5 separate regions of the Homo sapiens genome follow, and all the other regions are linked to region 1. Evidence: promoter capture Hi-C in 16 types of primary human blood cells and fetal thymus (Javierre and others, 2016). All regions are on one chromosome and are shown on one strand. The core of a region is centred on a gene start or on the middle of the fragment in contact, and the rest is flanking DNA. Distances in the headings are between cores, read along the strand shown. Region 1 holds the start of ICE1 (interactor of little elongation complex ELL subunit 1). Region 2 has its middle 27 kb from the start of MRPL36. Region 3 holds the start of MRPL36 (mitochondrial ribosomal protein L36). Region 4 holds the start of LINC02226 (long intergenic non-protein coding RNA 2226). Region 5 overlaps CCT5 (chaperonin containing TCP1 subunit 5).

Region 1 (4,238 bases), core at 1,739-4,238:
TTATGATGGTTACCATTCAAGGTTCTCTATAAACTGCCAGGAACCTATTTTTCTAGACTCACTTTGCACAACTACAGAATTCCTCCAGAGACTCTACTCGTAACTTTCCCCTAAAAAGGTAATCCAATTCCAGGCCACAGAAAATCCAAATGCAATAGTGTCCTGACCTAGAGAAGAACTCTGTAAACTAAGGCCCTACTCCAGTGTTTATAATGTTTCAATGGAACACAGGCATACTCATTTCTTTGTGAATTGTCTACAGCTGCTTTCACATGAAAATGGCAGAGCTGAGCAGTTCTGAGCAAGTCCCCAAAGCCTAAATACTTGTGATCTTGCTCCTTACAGAAAAAGTTTGCAGACCTCTGGATCTAGGATTACTCTTATTGATGTTTTGAGAACCCACAGCAGGAAATGTGGCAAGGGTAGAAGGAAGGAGATTCAATTTCTAGGCCATACATTAGAGTAGTTCACACCACGGTGGAAGCAGTGGAGATGTTGAAAAGTGGGTGAATAATGAAGGCAGAGCGGACACAATCTGATAAACTGGATACAGGTTATGAGAAAAAAAGAGCTGCACCAAGGATGCCATCTAGTTTCTGGCCTAAGCAACCAGAAGAATACAGTTGCTAAATTTAACCATAACAGATCCATGACTGAAAAGCACAGTTCACATCAGTAGTTCTTCTGCACAAAAGCCTCCAATGACTCACCATTTCCATCGCCCAAACCCCAACAATGGTCTACAGGAGCCCACACAATCAGGCCCTCCTCCTACCTTCCTGACTCCCAGCATTCACTCCGCTCCAGCTTCACTGGCCTTCTTGCTCTTCCCAAGCACACCAAGCCAGCTCCTGCTACAGTTCTTCACATCTGATGTTTCCACTGTATGGGAGACTTTTCTTCCAAGATTTCTACAGAGCTTATTATTCTCTCACCTTTGCTCCAATATAAACGTTCCAGGACTCCCTACTTAAATTCCAACAGCCACTGGCCTAGTCCTCACCCATTCATTCCCTCCCCATCTCTGTTCAATTCATCAACAACGTTTTCATTACCCTCTAACATAACTCATTTGTTTCATTTATCCTGCCACCCTCCTAGAACGGAAGCTCCAAGAGATCAAGAATTTTTGTCTTTTTCTCCCCTAATGCCATAATTGCAGTGTCTAAAATACGGCAGGTGATCAATAAATGTTTGTTGAGTGAATTGGCTCGAATAATAAATACAATGTATTAAAGATTCGGGAGAACTCCAATCACGTTCCTGGGGTGGTGGTGGCGGGGGCGGGGGGGCGTTATAAGATACCTACACAATGCAGCTCAGTGAAGGCAATGATCTGTTAGTTCTCCTTCTACTCACAAAAGCAGCACATTTCCTTCCTCCCCTTCCTTCAACACTTAAAATGTTTGCAATCAGTTCACAGATATTGCACTTAAAATGCAAACCAAGTTTCTCGGCATGGCCTACCTAGCCTGCACTCCCGTCTGGTCTCATCAACCATCTTCCGTGTGCACTATGCTCATGCCAACCATACCATGTTCTGCTCATCAAAGACACCCTGCTCCTTCTCACCAAAGGAACCTTTCCACCTGTTAATCCCTCTATCCAGGAAGCTCTTCCCACATCTCTTCTGACAGCCCGATCCTTCCCATTATTCAAATATCTGAAAGTTACTGACTCAAAAATTCCCTACCTGACTACTCTAGCTAAGAGACAAGACCAATATTCCAACATCCTCCTTTATTTTCTAACACCTAAAATCTTCTGAGGCCTTATTCACACATATGCATCTTACTTATGAGAGATCCTATTTTGTTCACCACAATGTCTGTAGTTCCTAGAACACTAGGCAGAGTAGGTAATGAGGTGCTGGTGAGTTCCGTTTTATCACTGAAACCGCGATAGTAGGAAGTTAAAAGAGACCCCCGACATCAGGCAGCTAGGAGAGTCGTGGGAAATGAGGGGCACTATTGCCCAAGTACCACCCCATAAGATCTGGAGCCATACTCTAGCAATTCTCCCTTATGTCACTCTAAAGAAGAGCCCACGCCGCTGTTAGAAACCTCCAGTCTCTGCATGCCTTTCATAAACTACTTTTATCAAACAACTGACAAGCTACTTGACCAATTACTTGGCTTGCTTTTTAAAAAATTAGCCTCGGGATGGCACATCTGCTATAAGCTGAAACGCCTCCCTAGACTCTTCGAGTCTAAGACTCAGACAACCCACATGTCACGTAAGATTCTGCCTCCAAACAACAAATACTCAGGATGGGCCAGAAGACCAAAGCGTTATCCTCAGGGAGATAACTGCCCTCGGCGTTTCACCTGTCCCTCACTGACCTACGGAGTCTGCCCTAGGGAGCTCCGAGGCCGGGTAGGGAAGGTGGGGGGCCCTCCAAACCTCGCTTACTCCACCCCCACCGTTACACCAGCGCATTCCAGTCAATGAACTCTGGGTTTCAAGCTTAAATAAAGCAAAGAAAGCCGTCCCCAAAACTCATGTAGGAAAAAGAGAGCAGAGAGACGAGCGAGCAAGAGCTACGGTTGGGAAGGGAGAGCAGCGCACTGAGGCACAGCCCGCGCGGCCGGACCCCACATCCCTGCGCTCCCGGCCGGCCGAGCCGAGTCCCCCCCCGCGCCCGGGGCCCCGGGAGGTGCTGCACCTGCTGCAGAGAGGCGCAGCCCTGACATCGCGACAGGTCCGCCGCCGTCCCGGGCGCCGCCGAATGGGTCTCGCCCGGCATCATGGTGCCGCCGCCGGGCCCGGTGGGCACGCACGCCTCAGGGGCCCGCGGCGTCGGCCCCGTCCTGTCTCTGCTGATGCCGCCGGGGCCGCCGCCTGCCAGGCCGCTTCCCGCCAGGTCCGGGCGGGTCCATCCGTGCACAGAGGTCCCCGTGGGGCTAGCAAAAGGCTCTCCGAGCCAGAGCTGCCTCAGGCACTAAAAAGAAACGCTACCCGGCGCGGCCCCCGAGCGCGACGCAGTCCAGTCAGGGCCCCGCCCCGCCCTGGCTCGCCCCGCCCCGCCCTGGCTCGCCCCGCCCCTCCCCTGGGCGCGGGGCTGCCTAAGGCGCTGCCTGAGCAACACCGGGAGAGGAGCTGTGCTATGCGGCGGGGGAGACGCCCACAGAGGAGCAGCCAATAGGAGTAGAAGGATCGAAGGTGCATTCCTACCACTGTTAAGGGTCGATCCTTTATTGCCACCTTGCTGTACGACAGGCTTTCCATAGACACCTAAAGGCCTCCGCTATGTGGGCGGTGACCCGCCCGTGACGTAAGCTCCAGACGCCTGAGAAGTGGAAGGACCCGGCGTCCAGGACAGGAAAGTGCGTGATTTACAGCTAGAGGGATAGGCGCTGTCCCGGAGCCCGTCCTGGGCCAGGGAGCAGGAGAGGGAGGGACTACAGTTCCCGACGCGCTGCGGGGCGGGCGGAGATCGTGCGCTTCGGCGCCAGTTGCACGGCCTTAGCAGCCAGTGGCGGCTCCCCTGCTCCTGTAACAGTCCCCTTGTCTTCTGACCTTTCGCTCCTCGGTCATGTGTCCTCGCCGGTCGCCGCGGCAGCCAGTGATGCCCGAGCGGCGGGTTCCCAGGCCCAGGTGTGGGCGCCACCGCCCACCATGCGCCAAGCCCAGAGCCTGGTTGAATCGTTCGCCACCTTGTCTACCCATTTTGGCCATTATCCTGCCACCTCCAAATCCTGTTTTTGACACTTCTCGGGAGAGAGAGAAAACGGAAAGATAAAGGAATAAACTCCTCGTGGTCGTAGTTAGTGGGTAAATTCAGATCTCGTTTGAACCGAGGTTTTTCTTATCTCCAGCCACCGTATCCACCACCACCAGAATCGTCTTTTTAGTCATCACAGCTGGTCGCCGTCAGTACCTTGTTCAGAAGCCTCTCGCAGCTTCCATCGTGTGGTTATACAATCCAAATTCCTTATAAAGTCCAAATTCAAGAGGAGGAATGCACGTTTAGTTAAGTTAATGTCTAGACCTTACCAGCCAATTTCTAGCTCCTCAGTATGGAAATTGCAACTGAAAACACCCCTTCCAAAAAAAGCAGTCTGCATTTTTCTCTGAGTTTTCTTCTCCAAATTTCGCACCCCTGACCTTGCTTACACACTCTGGATACCACCTGCTGTGGAGTGGCGGAAGCAGACATCCAGCGATAGCTAAGTTTCCTGTCGTTGACACCCAAGCAAGACAGGCGTGTACCTAACTGAGGACCTGCCGGTGATAGA
Region 2 (4,356 bases), core at 1,602-4,101, 3.7 Mb after region 1:
CCTACCTTGACCTTAATTTTTTTCTTTTTTAACTAGCTCCCTAAGGTGGAAGCAAAGATAATTGATTTAAACTTTTTCTTCATGTCTAATATAGGCATTAATCAATTTCTCCTTAAGGACTGCTTTAGCTCCATCCCACAATTTTTGTATTTGATTTCAATGTTCCAAGTTGATTTTCTTGAGTATATGATGGGCATCTTTCAATAGGTAGAATTAAATTCAGAAAACTTACAAAACACAGACAGGGTTGAACAATAAAATATAATTAAATAAAATCCCACCATTCATAGAAAAACAAATGTGGATTTTTTGGAAACTGAGGAATTATTTCCATACTGAGAAGTGCTCATGCCTTTGGAGTGCTGTTCGGTCACTTCGATGGGCCCCAGGTGTGACACAGGCTCCCGACACCTTTTCCCATCACTGTCCGCAAGTTCCCATGAATCTGATCTCATCAACAAAGTATATAAAAAATATATATATATCTACTGGGTCTGGCTTTGTCATTCAGACTGCAGTGCAGTGGTGCAATCTTGGCTCACTGCAACCTCTGCCTCCTGGGCTCAAGCCATCCTCCCATCTCAGCCCTCCCAAATAGCTGGGACCACAGATGTGCACCACCACACCTGGCTAATTTCTATATTTTTTTTAGAGACAGGATTTCACCATGTTGCCCAGGCTGGTCTCAGACTCCTGAACTCAAGGGATCCTCCCACCTCAGCCTCCCAAAGTGCTGAGATTATAGGTATGGAATTATAGTGTTTGTTTGCTTTTGTTTCCTTGAGATGAGGTCTCACTCTGTCTCCCAGGCTGGAGTGCAGTGGCACAATCCCGGCTCACTGCAACCTCCTCCTCCCTGGTTTAAGCTATTCTCCTGCCTCAGCCTCCCGAGTAGCTGGGATTACAGGTGCACGCCACCATGCCCAGCTATTTTTATATTTTTAGTAGAGACAATGTTTCACCATGTTGGCCAGGCTAGTCTCAAACTCCTGACCTTAGGTGATCCGCCCGCCTCGGCCTCCCAAAGTGCTGGGATTACAGGCATGAGCCACTATTCCTGGCCAGAATTATAGTTTTAAATATCAGTTCTGTTCCATTGTGTTAATTTAGTCTTCATTTACTCCAGTTGCATCTGTGTTGTATATTCTTTGACAGGCTTTTATATTTATTATTTTCTCATATTTTTAATTTCCTTTATTTTCATTTTAATTTCTTATTTGTATCTTCTTATTTCTGTTCTCTAAGTCTCTTACTGTGCTTTTGGTTATATATGTTTTCCCTTGGGCACCCCATAATTTGTCCTTACTTTCTGTTATGATTTCTGTCTTTTTCTTCAGTTTCTTACTTGAATGTTGCTAGCTGTAATTTTATACCTTCCAGTATTTATCTATTTGTATTCTGAGTTTTTGAGCCTCTGATTTGTGATGACCTTTTAAATCTGCAATTGCTTGTTTATCTTGGAGGGTTGTGGTACACTTTTCATTAGCTTTGAGGATTTTTTGAGGTAGGTTTTTCTCCTGCTGAAATTTCTATTCTTATTCTCAATTTTGGCTCTCTTATAGTCAATTTTTATGGCTGGACGCTGATTTCTTATTTTGTTCAGGATTATTTGTGTCAGATTTTCCTGAACCAGTGGTAGCTGATGCCTTGTGCAGGGAGTCTGGGTGTTTTACTCCATTTTTTAGTTTAAGAGCACCCTCTTATCGGCTACAGTAAAGTCCAATTTGTTTGATAAATGACAACTTTGGGGGCCTGTTTCTTTCTGATTCTTCGATAACACCCTGGGTCAGTAGCGCCCTTATCAAAGCGGCATCTCCCCCTTCCAAGAAGCTTTCCTCTCCCCAGACAGTTGTCCACAGGATTGCATCCATGGGTCCTGTGCATATTCCAAGCATCGTCCTTTCAGCTCCCAGCACAGCTTTCTGATCTGCCTTAGACCTCCTCTTTGTCTCCCTCTCTCGGGGAGCAGACGTCTCCTCTGGTGAATGTCATGGGTTTCCTCCTACACGTGGGCACTGCAAACCCTCCTGTCTTCCAAGCACACTCCAACTCACTCTGCTCTGCTGTGGGCCCCCTCGCCAGCTCTGATGGGTTCAAATGTTTGTTTCATCTTTTATGTGTCAGTTGAAGTTTGTGTTATTTGTTCTCTGTGTTCTGTTTGGTTGGGGGTGGTTTTGTTTGCTTTCTTTGTGCTTTTATAGAGGATATGTGGACAGATTTGGATCTAAGGGACAGTCATTATCCAACAGGTCCCAGAAGCTACTCCTTCCCCTTCTTCATTTCCTTTTTCAGTTTCCCTCACTCATATTGAACACTGCACCCGGGAGTGTCTGCAGCTGAACTCCCAGCAACCCACCTGTGTGGCACATGGGACACAGACTGAGAATAATGAAGGCCCAGGTGTGAGAACTGATTTGATGAGGGCTGCGGGTGTCCAGGCCTCCCGGGTGTGGCAATGGCTCTGCAGGCTCAGAAAAGCACTGTGGAGTGACTGCACTTGGCCTCCCTGGACATGTGCTGAGGATAAACCACACCAGTGAACCTTTTGGCAAGATGCATGAGCCACGTACACAAAATGGGTCCACGTCCCCCAGAACCCGGCAGCCACGTGGGCTCAGCCCATGGCAACACATTCATTTCCAACTTTGCACATAATTCTGGCTGAGGCAGGATTCACCATGCCCAGCTTATAGCCACATCTGGCCAATCTGGTTCAACATCCGTGTAATGGAGTTGTGACTTGTTCTTCAGTTGCCGTGGACCCCCAGGCTGAAGGTCATATAACCTGAGCATGCCCAGACAACCCACGTGTGCAACATGGGGGAACCTAAGTGCTGGGGCTGGGGAACGGGGACCGAATGAGGATCCAGGATCCAATCAGTGGAGCCCCAGCATCAGCCCCATGGCAGCACAGCTCATTAGTGCATACTTGGAAGACCTGGTCCAACCCCAGCTCGGGGAGGCAGATCTGGGCACTTCCTCCTGTCTCCTGGCCAGTCGACTCGCAAAAAATCTTTCTTGCTGCAAAACCCAGTGCTTCGGTGTTCGGCTTTCCACTGTGTGCCGGCAGACGGACCTGGTTTGATTCGGTGACAAGCCTGAGAGCATGCATCCTGCAGCTCCTCCTACTACAACCTCGGCGCTGTGCGGCAGCTCTCAGGACTCACCTGCACTCCTGCCTCACCCCCGCGAGCCCTCCCTGAAAGCTGAGCCCTCACATGGCTGAGATCTGAGCCGGGTGCTTGGCCTGGATGTGCCCCATGAGGTCCTTCTGATCCTGGGCCAGTCTCTTGTGATCCATAACCTGTCCTGCTGCTGACAGAGCTCCCAGCCCTGCCAAGGGGACCTCCTATGGGGCTGCCCCTGCTTTCCTAAGCAGCTGGATGAATCTTGATCAATCACATCCTGTAATGACTGCAGTGTCACCTTACATTTACATGGTGCACATTGTTATTCTGCACTGTAAACAACAGGCATAGAATTCAGTTGTCGACTTGGATGAGCTAGTCCACACCAACCGGAATGTCCACAAAAATGTGAGTGTACTCGTCATTGCTCCATGATCTCATATCATCCCCACTAAACACTGTGAGATGAAAATTATGATCCCTGTTTTATAGGTCAAGAGCACCCTCTTATTTGCTATAGTAAAGTTCAATGTATTTAATAAATGGCAACTTTGGGGCTCTGTTTCCTTCCGACTCTTTGATAACACCCTGGGTCAGTAGTGCATCATCATCAGCTACTTTCTCCTTTTCTTTCACCATCAACCATCTAAAGTACATCTCCCCCTTCCGAGGAGCTCCCCTCTCCCCCAGACAGTTACACATGAGAACAAACTATGGAACAAGCCACAAAGAAACTGAAGCTTGAGGAGGTGAAGTCCAAGGTCAAAATCATAGTGAGTGGCAGAGAAAATGCCAGCGTCATGGAGCCGATGCTTTGGGACTGGTGATTTGTTTCACAAATGAATTCTTTCTTTTCCACAAAGGATAGGTTTGATTACACACTGAGGTCTCCTCCATCTGATATTTAAATGTACATGTAGAAGATTTTTCCCACAGCTTTTCAGAAACCTGCACTATGGACAGTGAAGGGAACTTGTGTTCACAAAACAGGCATCCCCAGAAGCCTGGAGAAAGGAGAGGCTGCTGGATGTGCCTCAGGACACAGCCAGGGTGTCATGCCCTGACTTTCACCTTTCTCTAGGAAGCCGTCCAGGTTTTCTGCCACCAGTGCTTGCTGTCACAGCGGCTGCTGCTGCCACACAGGCACCACCCGGCGAGGTGGGGGTTATGTGAATTCAGGTTTCCAGCCCTTCTCAGTGCTCCTTAGAAAAACCAGACGACGTGCCTC
Region 3 (4,670 bases), core at 773-3,272, 3.6 Mb after region 1:
CGTTCTGACCCAAATAATCGGCTGCCACAAATCGCCTATGGGCAGCCAGTCCACAGCAAGTGCTGCCCGCTGGGGAGACTTCCCGTTCCAGAGCCCGCAGGCCCTGGAAGGACGAGACCCACCGCTACAGGCTGCCACCACCGTCCCGACTCGCGGGCGTCCTCCCCGGCGCGTGAGCGACAGCACAACCTTACCACGACCTGCGCTGCCGGCGCAGAACCAGGGCCGCGGATGCCCGGCGAGCCCACTGCCACCAGTCGCCCGAGGTGCGGCTGGAGGAAGGTGCATCCTGTACCCAGCGGCCGTTACCTGGCCAGTGTGCGTGACCTTCTCCCCGGTCGGCGAGACCCGCACCCCGAAACACCTGGCGCCCAGGGGCAGGCTCCGCGCCGCCTCGCCACACCGGTTCAGCAGCCGGCAGAAGGTCATCGCCGCCGCCATTTTGCGCCGCTGGCCTTTGACCCGGCGCAACGTCCCGCTTAGCGCTAACGCATGCGCACGGCTTCTGGCGGCGCCAAACACCCGGTATTTATTTCGCCCTGGGGGCGGGGAGCGCGGGTCGGGGCAGAGGGTGCGCCGGAGCTGCTCTCTGATTCAGGTGGTCACCCGTTTTCATCCCAGGTATCTCGCTAAAAATGCCCCTGATTACACCGAGTACTGTGCGCTTGTTTGACTTTTCATCAATGGCCTAAAAGTTAAGCGGCCCCGTTGCGCCGGCAGGTGCAGCCTCATGCAGTTGCAGCCGCAGGCTAGAGCTAGGGCCCTGATGAGGCAGGCAATGGTGTGCGAAACCTTCAGCGATTAGGAGTACCCAGTGGTTCTTATTTAGCGGACAGGCAGGGGAGGATGTAAACTGAAAATACATTGTTTATATTCTTATGGTAACCGATAATCATGAGACATTTAAATATCAAAATTATTGGGTGAAGGAGTCAACTGCTTAGCAGACGAGACTGGAAGTGCATTCTCCTCGTTCAAGGCAAGCGTTCCTGTGTGTGGTTACGGGGAGCCGCAGAGGAAACGTATATTGGGGATTTCTGCAACAAAGCCTAGTACACCGACTGATTTTACAGCATGCAAATACAGCCTCTAAAAAGGCCCGTTTTGCTTAGAGTTGACTTGGGTATAAATCCCAGCTTAAGCTCCAGCATCCAGCTTTTCTTTTGCTGTGGTCAGAGCCTGAGGACCACGTGACTCCAAGAACAAAACACTAGAGATGGATGAGTGGCGGGGAAGATGATAAAGAGGAGGAAAGGCATGAGAAACAAGAATGCACATGAAAACCTCCGGTCCCAAAGATGTCCCAGCAAACGTGGTGGTCAGAGGCAGATTTGTCCTGGAGCTGATAAACTCCAGCGGCCCGCCCGGTGTTCGCCGGGTCAGGTGGAAAAAGTGGGCGCTGCGATGAAGCGTTGGGGCCTGCAGGGAGCGCGGAGTGGACGCAGCCACGTCTGCAACTCACCCGGACACACACAAAAAGGAAGGCGAATGGAGTTACGGGTAGATACCTGAAAAGGCAGGGATAAGCGAGCTAAGGGTAGAATCTAGGTGGCAAGTATATGGGTGTTCACCGTACAGTTCTTTCCCTTTTTCTCTATGTCCGAAGTTTTTCATAATGTTGGGGAAAACAGCCGTAACCAGTTGAAACTACTGCCCGTCTCCACTCGTTTCCCGGAGCCTGTTTACATTTCTCCTGTCCACTTAAAAACATGTCCTCTTTCTCAGTTTGTTTTGACATTGGTATTTGCCAGTTTTTTCTAAGGCCTAAGTGGTTGTAATTTCTTTTTCGTTGCGGATATCCATTTTCGTTCCTGGTTTTTGCATTTTTTTTCCCGAGAGCGCTCCAAACAGCACGACGATCCCGGTGGCCCGCAGAGTGCGCGCAGTCGGGGAGTGATACGTCGCACTCCAGCGCCTGCGCACTCGCTGCTGCGTCTCTGCGCCCCGCACTGGACGTGGGCACGCCACGTGACCCCCCCCCCCGCCGCCATCTTCCTTCCTGGCAGCAGCGTCCGCGTGCCAGTGCGCAGACGCAGGGGTCGGCGCCGGGTGAGAGCGTGCGGCCGGGTAAGGGAGCCGTCTTCTCAGGTCAGGGGTCCCGGGTGTCTTGAGAGTGGGGGCTGCGAGAGGGTGGGGCCGGCCACCTTGGGACCCTCGGGCGTGTCTCCCCGAGTGGGCTGCGGTCAGAGGAGCGTGGGCCGGGGCCTGGCGGTCTCAGAGGGCCAGGGTTGGGGGGTGCGGGTCCGACCGTGGGCGCCCGACCTGGCGACAGGAGGGGGTGTCCAGCGACCCCGGGGCGGGAGAACTGGCGGCTCCCGAACGCGACCTCACAGCCCGCGCGCAGGGCCGGCTCCGGTGCCGCAGTGTCCTCCGGGCCCTGCAGGCCCAGCTCTTCCCAGCCGGGGCCGCTGAACCCTAAGGGCCGGGGCGCGTGGGGAAGCAGGGGCGGGCGACCGGGGTGCCAGAGTTCCGTGCTCTTCCGGAGCGGGGGCCTGTCCCGAAACTGGCCCGAGGGAGGGCCCCTGGGTCTGGGAAGAGTTGGAGGGAGGAGCTCATCAGTTGAACCGTCCTTGACCTGGTGTCTGTTTGGAAAGGGATGCGGCCTAAGTTTAAGCTCCCTCCCAGCCAAGTGAGCGGCTCCTCAACATCGCAGGGCTTTGCACACTCACCTACACTTGCAGCAGGCGGGAAAGGGAAGGAAGCCACCGTCCACTGCCCCTTATTCTCCTGGCACACTTGGCTGATTAAGGCAGTGTTCAAGCTCAGGTCGAGGCTGCAGCTGGTATGGGAACACCCTCAGTCCCCGAGGTCCCTGCCTTCCCAAGCCTCAGTGAAACAGAGAAAAGGAAGCCTTAAAGAGCAGGTGGAAGTGCAGGAGAAGCTATAACTCCTTTTTTTCTCTCTCCCATAGATTCACCACAACATGGCAAATCTTTTTATAAGGAAAATGGTGAACCCTCTGCTCTATCTCAGTCGTCACACGGTGAAGCCTCGAGCCCTCTCCACATTTCTATTTGGATCCATTCGAGGTGCAGCCCCCGTGGCTGTGGAACCCGGGGCAGCAGTGCGCTCACTTCTCTCACCCGGCCTCCTGCCCCATCTGCTGCCTGCGCTGGGGTTCAAAAACAAGACTGTCCTTAAGAAGCGCTGCAAGGACTGTTACCTGGTGAAGAGGCGGGGTCGGTGGTACGTCTACTGTAAAACCCATCCGAGGCACAAGCAGAGACAGATGTAGACCCTTTCCCTCCAGAGTCACGCACATACTCGTCATCGCATCACTTGGGAGAATGGTTGTATCTTATGGAAGGAATTATCACATCAAGGAGTCAGGGGAAAGTGACTGGAAGCAAACGCCCTAAAAGTTACCCATCACGTTTCAGTGTAAATGAGTAACTATAGAAGACATTGCGTTATCTTATTTCCAAAACGTTCCAACTAAAAAACATTTTCCTATTAAAATAGACCTTCCGAATAGCTTAGTTCATTCATTCTCTCTGAACTCAGGCTGCAGGTAGGGATTGGATGGTGCTGGGTGAGGCTGGGCAGGACTTCTCTATGTCTCCGTGAGGCTGCTTAGAGCCTCTTGGAAGAAGTGGTGTTTTGGTCACCCGTCGCTGTACAAGCCAAGGCTTGGTGGCTTAAATCAGCCATTTTACATTGTTCACGATTTTGTGAGGCATTTGGGATGGGCTCAGCTGAGCAGTTTGTCTGATCTGTGTGGCATTAACTGCAGGACCCACTTCCAAGATGGCACCGGCTCTCCTGTCTGGGGTCTCAGTGCTCCTCAGGCTGTACGTAGCACCTCCTCAGGCAGGGCCCACAGCGTGGCTTGCACTGCCCCACAGTGAGCTTCCCGAGAGTGTCCCGAGAGACCCAAGCAGATGCTACGAGGCTTCCTATGACCCAGCCTCAGAAATTCCAGCGTGTCATTTCTACCGCACTCTTTCAGTCCCTAGGGTGAGCCCAGATTCAGGGGGAGGCAAGGAGCTCCCCTTGCTAGAGGATGACCACACCTACAACTGGTAAGGACTTGGAGGGATGGAGTGGGCTGGTCCTTCCCTGGTCATCGGGATTCATAGTTGAGTGAGCCCCATGCCTTGGGGGAGCACTGTCATCAACATGAATTTGGGGGTGGGGAGCACAGTCCAACCCAGAGCAGATGCTGAGATGCGACAGCCTTCTCACGGCTCCTTTCCTCCTGGCCAGGGACACCTCCCCTTCTCCCAGAAAGGAGTTTTGTGAGACAGGAGACCACGCAAGAAGCCTAGCGCGGGGGGAGCGCCCTCCTGCCCAGATCAGCAGCAGGGGCGCAGCAGGGTCACCCAGAAAGGCCTGGTGGGGCGGCAGAGGGGGCAGCATGGCCACATGAGGGCCAAAGCTCCTCCCCAGCACCCACATCACTTCTCCAGGGGGAGCAGACGCCGGTGTGTGTTGCTGTGAACTCTGTGCTGTGCCCATTCACCCTCACAAAGGGCCTCTGCAAGCAGCTTGACATGGGCATTGCAGCCCGCAGGCGTCTGGCCAGTTGAAGAAGGTGGAGAGCGTTATTACCTGAAAGAAAAGGGAACCAGCTCTGCGAAGAGCCTGCTTCTGTTGTGCAGTGAAAGGGAAGCCCTCTCTCGAGCCGTTCTTAAGTGAGGAGTTGATGCACTAGAGTGTCTGTCACGGGG
Region 4 (4,225 bases), core at 466-2,965, 3.0 Mb before region 1:
GTATACACACACACGCATGCAAAGAGAGGAAGCATAGCTTAGTGGTTAACCTACATAGACTGCAACTTGCTTAAATAATCCAGTATTTATCTATGTTTTAATAAAATTGTTTTAATAAAAATATATGAAATTCATCTATCTTTTCTCTGGAATGCTTTTGCCTGTTCAAAGATTATACAATGCTCCCGTATGTTACAGAGGAAGCCGTCCCTTCATTTATAAAAGACAGTTAACACATAGCACAAAAACTCTAGAGTAGGATGGATCCGCAACTACTGTACTGGAAATATGCTAAATTAGGGTTCTGATTAGAGTTAATGGAATTAACTTGGGTGAGAGAAAATACTCACCATTAATCTAGGGGTAACAGAGGAGTTAAACTCCAATTCAGAAACAGAGCAGTTCAAAATCAGAATCTAGAGTCAGCCTACATGGGCTTGATCTGGGAATGTGCCCTTTATTAGACGTGTAACCTTGGGCTGCTGCTTGACTGAATAGGTCTTCGATTCCTCATGGAATGAATATAATAAGATCTGATGAATGCAATTAGACAGTGCCTGAAACAGTAGTCTTAAGTAGGTATTTTTGTTGTCCCACTTTTTGAGAAACAAAACCAAAGTCAATTCAATTAAAACTGCAGGTTTCTTGATTTCATCCTAATACTTTGCAAATTAATCACAGAACCCAAGTGAAATTGCCTAGACTCTCAAAGAGTTCGAAAAACATTTCTAATACACTCAAAATTTTCCTAGTTGACGTTCACAGATTATCAAGAGTAAAGCACCTTCATACAGTTTTGATCCTCACACTGTCTAAATCTGAGGAGCTGTCAGGAAAGACATGTAAGGAGAGATCTAAGCTAAAACTCAAACCACACATGAGGCTTTTCAACTGTGACCAACTTGTAGTTAAAATTCAGTTTATGCTTTTCTGTCCACCTAAGAGCAAATTAAACCTTTAAGAAAGCAAAGGATAAAATCATTGTTAGCTCAAGCATTAAAAAAGAAAATAACTGAATATATCTTCTTCAACTCTCCACCCCTAGGGATGAGAACTGCACCTGGCAAACAAGAGGACATTCAACACGTAGTAGCTGTTAAAATGAGTAACTCCCCAAAAGCACTATTAGAAGGCGATATAGTTATTATGACCAAGTTCTGCGGAAACATGGTGTTGAAAACCTTACTGAAGCTAACAATGTGCGTCACCTTCCAGGAGCCACACACACATCCTGAGGGCTTCCCAGATCAACCCCTCATCCCCGCGACAGAGCCACAATCCAGCACCACCTTCCCAGGACTCTCAGCTGAGGCCCCAGCCCCCGCAGGCCCAGGGACGACGCGGCGGGCAGGGCACATGCCTGCGTCGGGCCAGGTGGAAGCTCGGAACGACCACAGGCCCCCGGGGCGCGCCCCTCCCCGTCACGCGCCCCGTTTCCCACGTCCACGCATGCGGTTTCCCCAGGCCTGGAAAGCGTCTAGAGCCAAAGAGCCCAGGGGCTTGCCCGCGCAGAGGCCGACGTGGGGCCCAGGGACGCGCTCCCGGGGTCCTCCCCGCCGAGCCCGCAGCCAGCACCCGGAGCGATCCCCCGAGCCCGAGGGGCGTGGGAACCACGCGCGCAAGCCGGCTGCCCTTCCAGTCCCGGGACGCTTCCCCATCAGGCCAGTGCTAGGCGGGCGGTCGGGACCCGGGGATCGCAGCCTCCGGAGCGCTCACCTGGGTGGCGCAGGCCAAGGACGCCCATGGACAGCGCGACCTCCTCCCATTCCACACACGCGCCCACGACCAAAGTGCGCATGCTCGACACCTGGGACCAATAGGAATCTCGGTCCGAGGGTAGCTGGGGCCAATCACAGCGCGTCTGGCGTGTGGGCGGTGTCTCCTCGTGTTACGCGTGCGCGGAGGGGCTGCGCTACCCGGTCTTGGGTTTTTCATCGGGGAGTGGGAGTGGACTGAAGGCTTGGCCGCTCCGCCTCACTGAGCCGGCTCAGCCAGCGCAGCTGTTCCTGGAACGCCAGTCCCTTAGGATGGGAGGTACTTTCATCTCGAAGAGGGCCGTGGCGTCTGGAGCTTCCCTCCCTTCTGTCCTGCTGAGTCATCCCCGCGTCGCCTGCGAGGCCGCGAGGCGTTTAGGTCTGGGCAGGCCGCCTTTTCCCCATCACGAGATCCTGTTATTTTACTGTTTCATTCTTTTTCTCACTTTCCTATTTGTTAAGCCAAACTTTTTCCTTCCATAGACGTGACCCCTTAGAAGGCTACCCATGCCTCGACATATCTGACATTTGACGTTTTACTCAAATAATTTGCCAAAGTCTATTGCCTTTTTTAACTTCTATTTTCTAAAGCTAGTTTGATACTAATCAACACAGTTTTTTCAACAAGCATGTAAGTGTGCATATTCTAGACATGCGCGGCCTGAGTTTAACCCATCTGCTACTAATTTGTGTTGTCTCGGAATATTATCTAATCCCGTGCTTCAGTTCTCATATATAAACTGAAACTTTATAGATTCACTGGTGGCCTGTAAGCCTGGCCTGTAAGCCTTAAGTTGAAACATGGAGCATATCAGAACTGTGCCTGGCACGTGGTGAAATGTTCAAAAGTTAGTATTGTTATTAGGTGCTGGGCACTTTTCTAGGCTTTGGGATATAGAGATCAATGTCCCTGATGTCCTGGTGTTTATAATTTATTGTGGACACTTTGCTATTTTTTTGGATACAGATCTTTATTTTCATAAACATGGATAATTTTCATTGAGTGCAGTGTGATCTCAATTGATACTTTTGTAGTATTTCATCATTATGCTTATATTCTTTTTAAAATTTAGGTACTGTTGAGGGAAAGTGAGAATGACATGATTTTGATAACATGGTAGAACCTTTTTCATTCATCTGGTGTTGCCACACTGGGGCTCTGGGTGCTTTATGAATCATGTTCACAAGTCATACTTGTGTCTGTCCATGGTTCTTTTCACTACAGCCACCATAGTTCAGGGTGAGATTTTTCACACCGACTGTAAAGATTTATCTGTGGAAAATGGTAATGAGCTTGCCTGGTTGATGTCCTGTTGTTTTCCCAAGTACATACTTGGAAGAGAGTGAACAGAAGACTAAAACGTGGGTCAACAGATGTTTTGCAGTGAGCTAAAAAATAATTGACTTCACTAGAACAACTGCTTGATATTCTACAGCAGTTTTGCAGGTTTCTGAAGTGGAAGAAGCAGATAGTGATGGAATGCTGCTAAAAGAAATATAAGAGAATAATAACACCCTTGGTGCTTGTTAATTTCATTTTGAATTTTTTTTTTTTAAGTTGTCAGTTACATGTTTGGTGACTGCTTTGAAAGTTCTGATTCTGTTGCATGTGGATCCACAAGGTAGCTTAGGAAGCCTGATGGCAGAATACAAATTGTCTTAAAAGAGTTCATAGGTATTCACAATCTTTGTATTGAAGAAAGTATGATGAAACTCCCCAGGTCCAGTTAGGGCAGCACTGGGAATGCAAGGTGAGAAATTGGAAGAATTTACCACACACAAAAAAATGATGTGTCTGTATTAGTCCATTCTTGTATTGCTATAAAGAAATACCTGAGACTGGGTAGTTTATAAAGAAAAGAGGTTTAATTGGCTCACAGTTCTGCAGGCTGTACAAGCATGCTGCTGGCATCTGTTAGACTTCCAGGGGAAGCCTCAGGGAGCTTTTATTCATGGTGGAAGGCCAGCAGGAGGAAGAGAGAAAAGTGGTGGGGAGGTGCCACAATTTACAGCAACCAGATCTTGCAGGAACTTAGTATCAGGAAGTCAGCACCAAGCCTGAGGGATCTGCCTCCACGACCCAAACACCTCCCACCAGCCCCCGCCTCCAACACTGGGGATTAAAATTCAGCATGAGATTTGGTGGGGACATATATTCAAAACGTATCAGTGTCATTTTATGAAATATTCTGGGCTAAAACAGTGGATCTACAAGCAACTTTTAAAAAGAAGATAATTAACATCTCTCAGTTGACAGTTTCTAACTTGAATCCTAAATAGGCCAAGTGTGCAGCAAGCTTGTGGTTTTTGATCAGACACTACCTGTGAGCTCTCTTTTTCTTAGTTCTAATAAGGAAATAGATACTAAGTCTTAGAAATTTTTAAATACTTTGGGCACAATAACATTTTTTTAAACAAAGACCTAGAGCAACATGTTGCTGGACTTTCTGAGCAAAGAAAGTCAAGTGATA
Region 5 (4,412 bases), core at 1,913-4,412, 4.8 Mb before region 1:
AGGTTGTTTAAACAGATTCTTTTAATACAATGAATACAAAAGCAGTTGAGATGGTACCCCCACGATTACACAGCTTTGAACAAGTGAAACTATGGTTACCAAACAGCTATTTTTATTATAGCATCTACAGTGTCTGGAAAAGGATGTAACAATAAATAACTGTAGATGCATCACGAGACATCCATTTACTTAATCACAGAAGTGGATCTTGCTACATAGTTTTCTCAATGTCTTCATTCTTCAGATTCTCCAGGCTTACGAATGTCATCAATCTTCAAAATCATTCTAACCATTTGTGTTGCAAGAGATATCTGTTGCTTTTTGCCAATCAAGGTTTCTATGACATGCTGTTGCTTCATATCTGAAAAATACAAGGACACTGATTATCCTAAAATAGCATACAATAAACTATCAATAACCAACTCTTTCTGATTTAGGGAATCACAGTAAGACTTAAGAAATACAAACTCCTGGAAGCCAAGCAGGAAGCCACTAATTTCAGTTATATTTCATTTTCAGATGAATGTAATTTCATTACTTCCAAGGACACTCTGGAACTCGCACCTGGTAAAGAGAGCTGTTGGGAGGGCACTGTCTTCAATGACTAGCTACAGGGTGACATTTTTCAGGAACATCTTATCCCACAAAGTATCCATACCCTAACTTAGGAAATCTAAAGTAAGTCCATCTGACCACAGCTGAAATGTAAGATATTTCCAAGAAAGATCTAGAAATGCTAATTTTTTTTTTGGAGACAGGTGTCACCCAGGCTGGAATACAACAGTGCGATCTCAGCTCACTGGAACCTCTGCGTCCCGGGTTCAAGCGATTCTCCTGCCTCAGCCTCCCGAGTAGCTGGGATTACAGGTGCCTGCCCTGACCAGGCCTGGCTAATTTTGTATTTTTTGTAGAGATGGTGTTTCACCATGTTGGTCAGGCTGGTGTCAAACTCCTGACCTCAGGTGATCCACCCGGCTTGGCCTCCTAAAGTGCTGGGATTACAGACATGAGTCACTGCGCCCGGCCCTAGAAATGCTAAATTTGAGCACAACCAGGCATTCAAGTTAGAAACATTAAATGTTTGCCTCACAAAGAGTTGCTACTATTGAAACCCTTGGAATTTGAGCATGGAAAGCAGAATGTACCTATACCTTTAAGCAAAAGCTGTCATTCTGTGGATGGATTACAGACATGGCCTGATTTAGTACAGAAATGCCTGAGACCACTGTTTCAACAAGCTACAGCCACCATATCTTTTTGGGAGCCGAGCTACACAAGTGGCTACAGAGGTTATATATTACATTTAGAAAACACTCCACAGTGTGCAGGATTAACCACACAGTGAACTGTGAACTAAAGCCCACTTCAGAGCTGTTATATATATGCTGCCCACTGACAGACATCTGTGTAAAAACAGCAATAAGGCATTACTTCCCAAAAACCAGAGATTAAAACCTAAGTCATCTTTGGTGATAGTACCATATGCACTTTACTGTTATTACAATGAGTCTCATGTTGCTAGGTCTAGTAGTCTAACCAATTCCTACGGCAATCAAACATTCTAAAATTCAGGACTTGAACACCTGAAGTGGGCTTACATATTTAAAAAGACACCATCATCTCACAGCACATACAGTGGATGATTATTCAGTTTAAATCAGACATCCCCCCCCCTCCACGCAGAGGCGTGACAGCTCCTCACCATTTGTCCCCTTGTGCAAACAGTCGATGCCAAGAGCAGGGTTCATCTCCTTCACCTGTCTGGCTCGGACTTCGGTCATAGTCTGGATGGGATTCATGCCACTGTTTTCAGAGAGGGCCATGGGGATGACCTCCAGTGCGTCGGCAAACGCTCTCATGGCATACTGTTCTAAGGTGGGGCACTGGAAAGGTACAGAAGTATGGTGAGTGCACTTGGCGAAACAAAACAACCCAGCGGCACCGTGAAAACACAACTGTATCACATACTTTGAAAAGTCAGCTCACAAAGAATTGTAAGAACAGGCTGTCTTTATTTTTGTATCTATCAGAATATTATAATGTCACCACAGAATACAGGCAGAGGGTATACATACATGTGAGAGATGTCTCAAAATACAGCAGCTCTTATGGCTTTATTTTTAAGTTATAATATTAATTTTGAATTTCAAATAACATTAAAAGACTATAGATTTATTATTTCAAGGACGAACTGGCTGAAAACAGCTGAGAAATGCTAGGTTATGGTAACCAGAATCTGAATACAGGAACGTGGGAATTAACTTAGATTAAAACACCTGTCACCTACACACAGCTCACGATGCTTGTTTTGCATCCAGCACCTCGCTGTTCCGCAGCTTCACAGTCTCCACCATCAGCGAGGCCTGAATCTTTCACTAAGTCTGCACAGATCCCTTACCTTATCCGCCTCTTGGCTAACTGCCAGGGCACAGGATATCTCAGCAGCCCCTCCTCCATACACCACACGATTATCGCGGATGAGGTTCCGGATGACACACAAAGCATCGTGAAGGGATCGTTTCGCCTCCTCAATGATCTAAGGAAAACAGCTTTGCCTGAATTAATGTGATCAAGATCTAGTCAATTTAGAGCCAAGTATCTGGCACCTTTTTAAAGACAGAGAGGCTGTGCTCTAATATTTAGATGGCCTCCACTATCGGATAATATTTATCTTTCTAGCTTTCCTTCCTGCAATGTAGTTAACAAAATTCAAGAGGCAGAGGCGGCCAGTGACTCATTCTAGGATACACGGTCAAGCAAGAGTCAAAAACTGACAAAACTCGCAAAGATTTATCACAATGTGCTAAAAACTCATTCTCAAAGAACAGAGATCGTCAATGGTTATTCACTTGGGTTCCCTTTTTCTACCTAAGGGACAGATGTAAGTCATCCTTGGTAATAATACCATATTGTAATTAAAATGAGTCTTATGTTGCTAGGGCTAGCAGTTTAACCAACCCCTAATGTAACTGTATCAAACATTCTAAAATCCAGGACTTGAATATTTAAACTGTGTTTAAGTATTTAAAAAGATATAAAAATCTCATAGTGTATATTGTATACTCTAAGGGACAGCAGAAAGGCAAATGTGCCTTGTGAAATTAACAATTTAACATGGTCTTCAGTAATTTTACACCATGATACGTCATTGTTTGAGAACCACGATTATTTTTCTTATGGTGACTGTGTCTCTGTTAAATACACACAGGCAAAAAAGCCAGACCATGAAGCAAAATAAGCAACAGTATAGGACAAATAGTTGAATTCTCACCATCTTATTTCCTCCTCTAATAAAAATGGTTACAGCTCTGGAGTTCTTACACTGCTCGATGACCAGCATTTTATCCTTAGTTGTCCCAAATGAGATCTCCTGTACAAGACCAGCAAAGCCCAGCTTCTCGGCTGTGAGCTCTGAGAACCTGGGGACGATCCGCCCTCCTGTTGCGATGGCAATCAGCTAATTGGGGTGGTCAGGGAGAAGGATGAAGACAGTACTGGTGAAGTTAACTTTCAAAACTGGGCCACAAATGAGCAAAACTTGATCTAAGACCAACTTGTTCACTAGAACTGCTGCCCCACTTTGACCGAGACATCTCCAGTTCAACCCAAAGCACCTTGCTAGGTAACAAGGCTCTTGAGCTGGACGTCTTGATTGGGGCTTTGGTGCTGCCCAGATCTATCACCCGGCGCCCGTCCCCTAAGCTCATACCCTCATCTCCCATCTGTGCAGCCCTCCCTCACTCTGGGAACCCAGCCTGCATGTTCCTTGCACTGCGCTGCAGTGAGAACCACCGAGGCACCGTTGCCTGGGACTGCCATTAGTATTTGGATGAGACCAGGTCTTCCAGCCTTAGTAAGTCAACGACAGGGCCAAGTGAGACAACACAGGGAGAGAATTTCAAAATGCCAGGGAACACCAGAAACACACAGCACTGTTATCCAAACAGTAACAAAGATTCCAGCGCTTTCCTCTCTCCCAGCTCACCCTCCCCTCATCTGCCAGCCTTGGTGTGATGCAGTTATTTAAGGCAGGGCTATCAAAACACCCCTCAACACATAAGATGAACCCCTACTTCTCAAAGTCTCTTCACGTGGAACATCCTACCTCAATTTCAGGTCCTCCTACCCAGCGAACCGCAGGCAAGTTGTTCTGAAGAAGTAAGTGATTTGCTTCATCATCAAAGCCCCACTGACAAATTGCTAGGTTAGCACCAGTCTCTTTAATCTGGGAAAAGAACCACCACAATCGTATTAAGAGAAAGTGGGTATTTATTCTTCATTACAATGTTTGAAAAAAGGAGAGGCACAGTTGGGTGTAAGGCAGGTGCACTCAAACACAAAAGCAAAGGAAAGAGAAGGAAGGAAATAGACAAGTGTCCACTTTTCTGTCAGTTCCAAATTCTAAATAGTGA

What was found. Contacts are between HindIII fragments. The CHiCAGO score rates a contact against its expected background, and 5 or more counts as called.
Region 2: a fragment that was not itself captured here is called in contact with the fragment with the promoter of ICE1 in region 1 in 1 of 17 cell types (endothelial precursors); the score reaches 7.2 in endothelial precursors.
Region 3: the fragment with the promoter of MRPL36 here is called in contact with the fragment with the promoter of ICE1 in region 1 in 4 of 17 cell types (endothelial precursors, naive B cells, neutrophils and 1 more); the score reaches 10.4 in endothelial precursors.
Region 4: a fragment that was not itself captured here is called in contact with the fragment with the promoter of ICE1 in region 1 in 1 of 17 cell types (total B cells); the score reaches 5.6 in total B cells.
Region 5: a contact is called between a fragment that was not itself captured here and the fragment with the promoter of ICE1 in region 1, in 1 of 17 cell types (activated CD4 T cells). The highest score is 8.3, in activated CD4 T cells.

Annotation. Positions count from the first base shown.
Region 1 is chr5:5,421,427-5,425,664 of GRCh38, reverse strand. It overlaps ICE1 (interactor of little elongation complex ELL subunit 1), which reads right to left and starts at 2,988. Exons shown (of 19, transcript NM_015325.3): 1 at 2,666-2,988. The coding sequence starts at 2,749. LOC101929200 (a long non-coding RNA gene) reads left to right here and starts at 3,536. Exons shown (of 6, transcript XR_001742583.3): 1 at 3,536-4,238. RefSeq lists silencers at 2,556-2,695, 2,756-3,085 and enhancers at 3,116-3,365, 3,231-3,741, 3,742-4,238. The HindIII fragment of the contact is 2,607 bases long and covers 2,469-4,238 here.
Region 2 is chr5:1,770,490-1,774,845 of GRCh38, reverse strand. No RefSeq gene overlaps it. Among named protein-coding and RNA genes, the nearest start is that of MRPL36, 27 kb to the left of the region's middle. RefSeq lists an enhancer at 2,623-3,122. The HindIII fragment of the contact is 2,038 bases long and covers 1,833-3,870 here.
Region 3 is chr5:1,797,189-1,801,858 of GRCh38, reverse strand. MRPL36 (mitochondrial ribosomal protein L36) reads left to right here and starts at 2,022. Exons shown (of 2, transcript NM_032479.4): 1 at 2,022-2,067; 2 at 2,912-3,474. The coding sequence starts at 2,924. The coding sequence ends at 3,235. NDUFS6 (NADH:ubiquinone oxidoreductase subunit S6) reads right to left here and starts at 452. Exons shown (of 4, transcript NM_004553.6): 1 at 310-452. The coding sequence starts at 441. RefSeq lists enhancers at 73-212, 1-643, 823-952, 1,013-1,062 and a silencer at 2,143-2,552. The HindIII fragment of the contact is 7,489 bases long and covers 1-4,670 here.
Region 4 is chr5:8,455,258-8,459,482 of GRCh38, reverse strand. It overlaps LINC02226 (long intergenic non-protein coding RNA 2226), which reads left to right and starts at 1,919. Exons shown (of 6, transcript NR_039984.1): 1 at 1,919-2,034. It overlaps MIR4458HG (MIR4458 host gene), which reads right to left and starts at 1,796. Exons shown (of 2, transcript NR_039989.1): 1 at 1,717-1,796. It also overlaps the pseudogene LOC100419318. RefSeq lists silencers at 1,467-1,526, 1,537-1,586 and an enhancer at 2,107-2,206. The HindIII fragment of the contact is 4,676 bases long and covers 1-4,053 here.
Region 5 is chr5:10,260,605-10,265,016 of GRCh38, reverse strand. CCT5 (chaperonin containing TCP1 subunit 5) reads right to left here. Exons shown (of 11, transcript NM_012073.5): 7 at 4,106-4,225; 8 at 3,272-3,457; 9 at 2,399-2,536; 10 at 1,703-1,883; 11 at 1-361. The coding sequence ends at 234. Among named protein-coding and RNA genes, the nearest start is that of CCT5, 13 kb to the right of the region's middle. The HindIII fragment of the contact is 8,542 bases long and covers 1-4,412 here.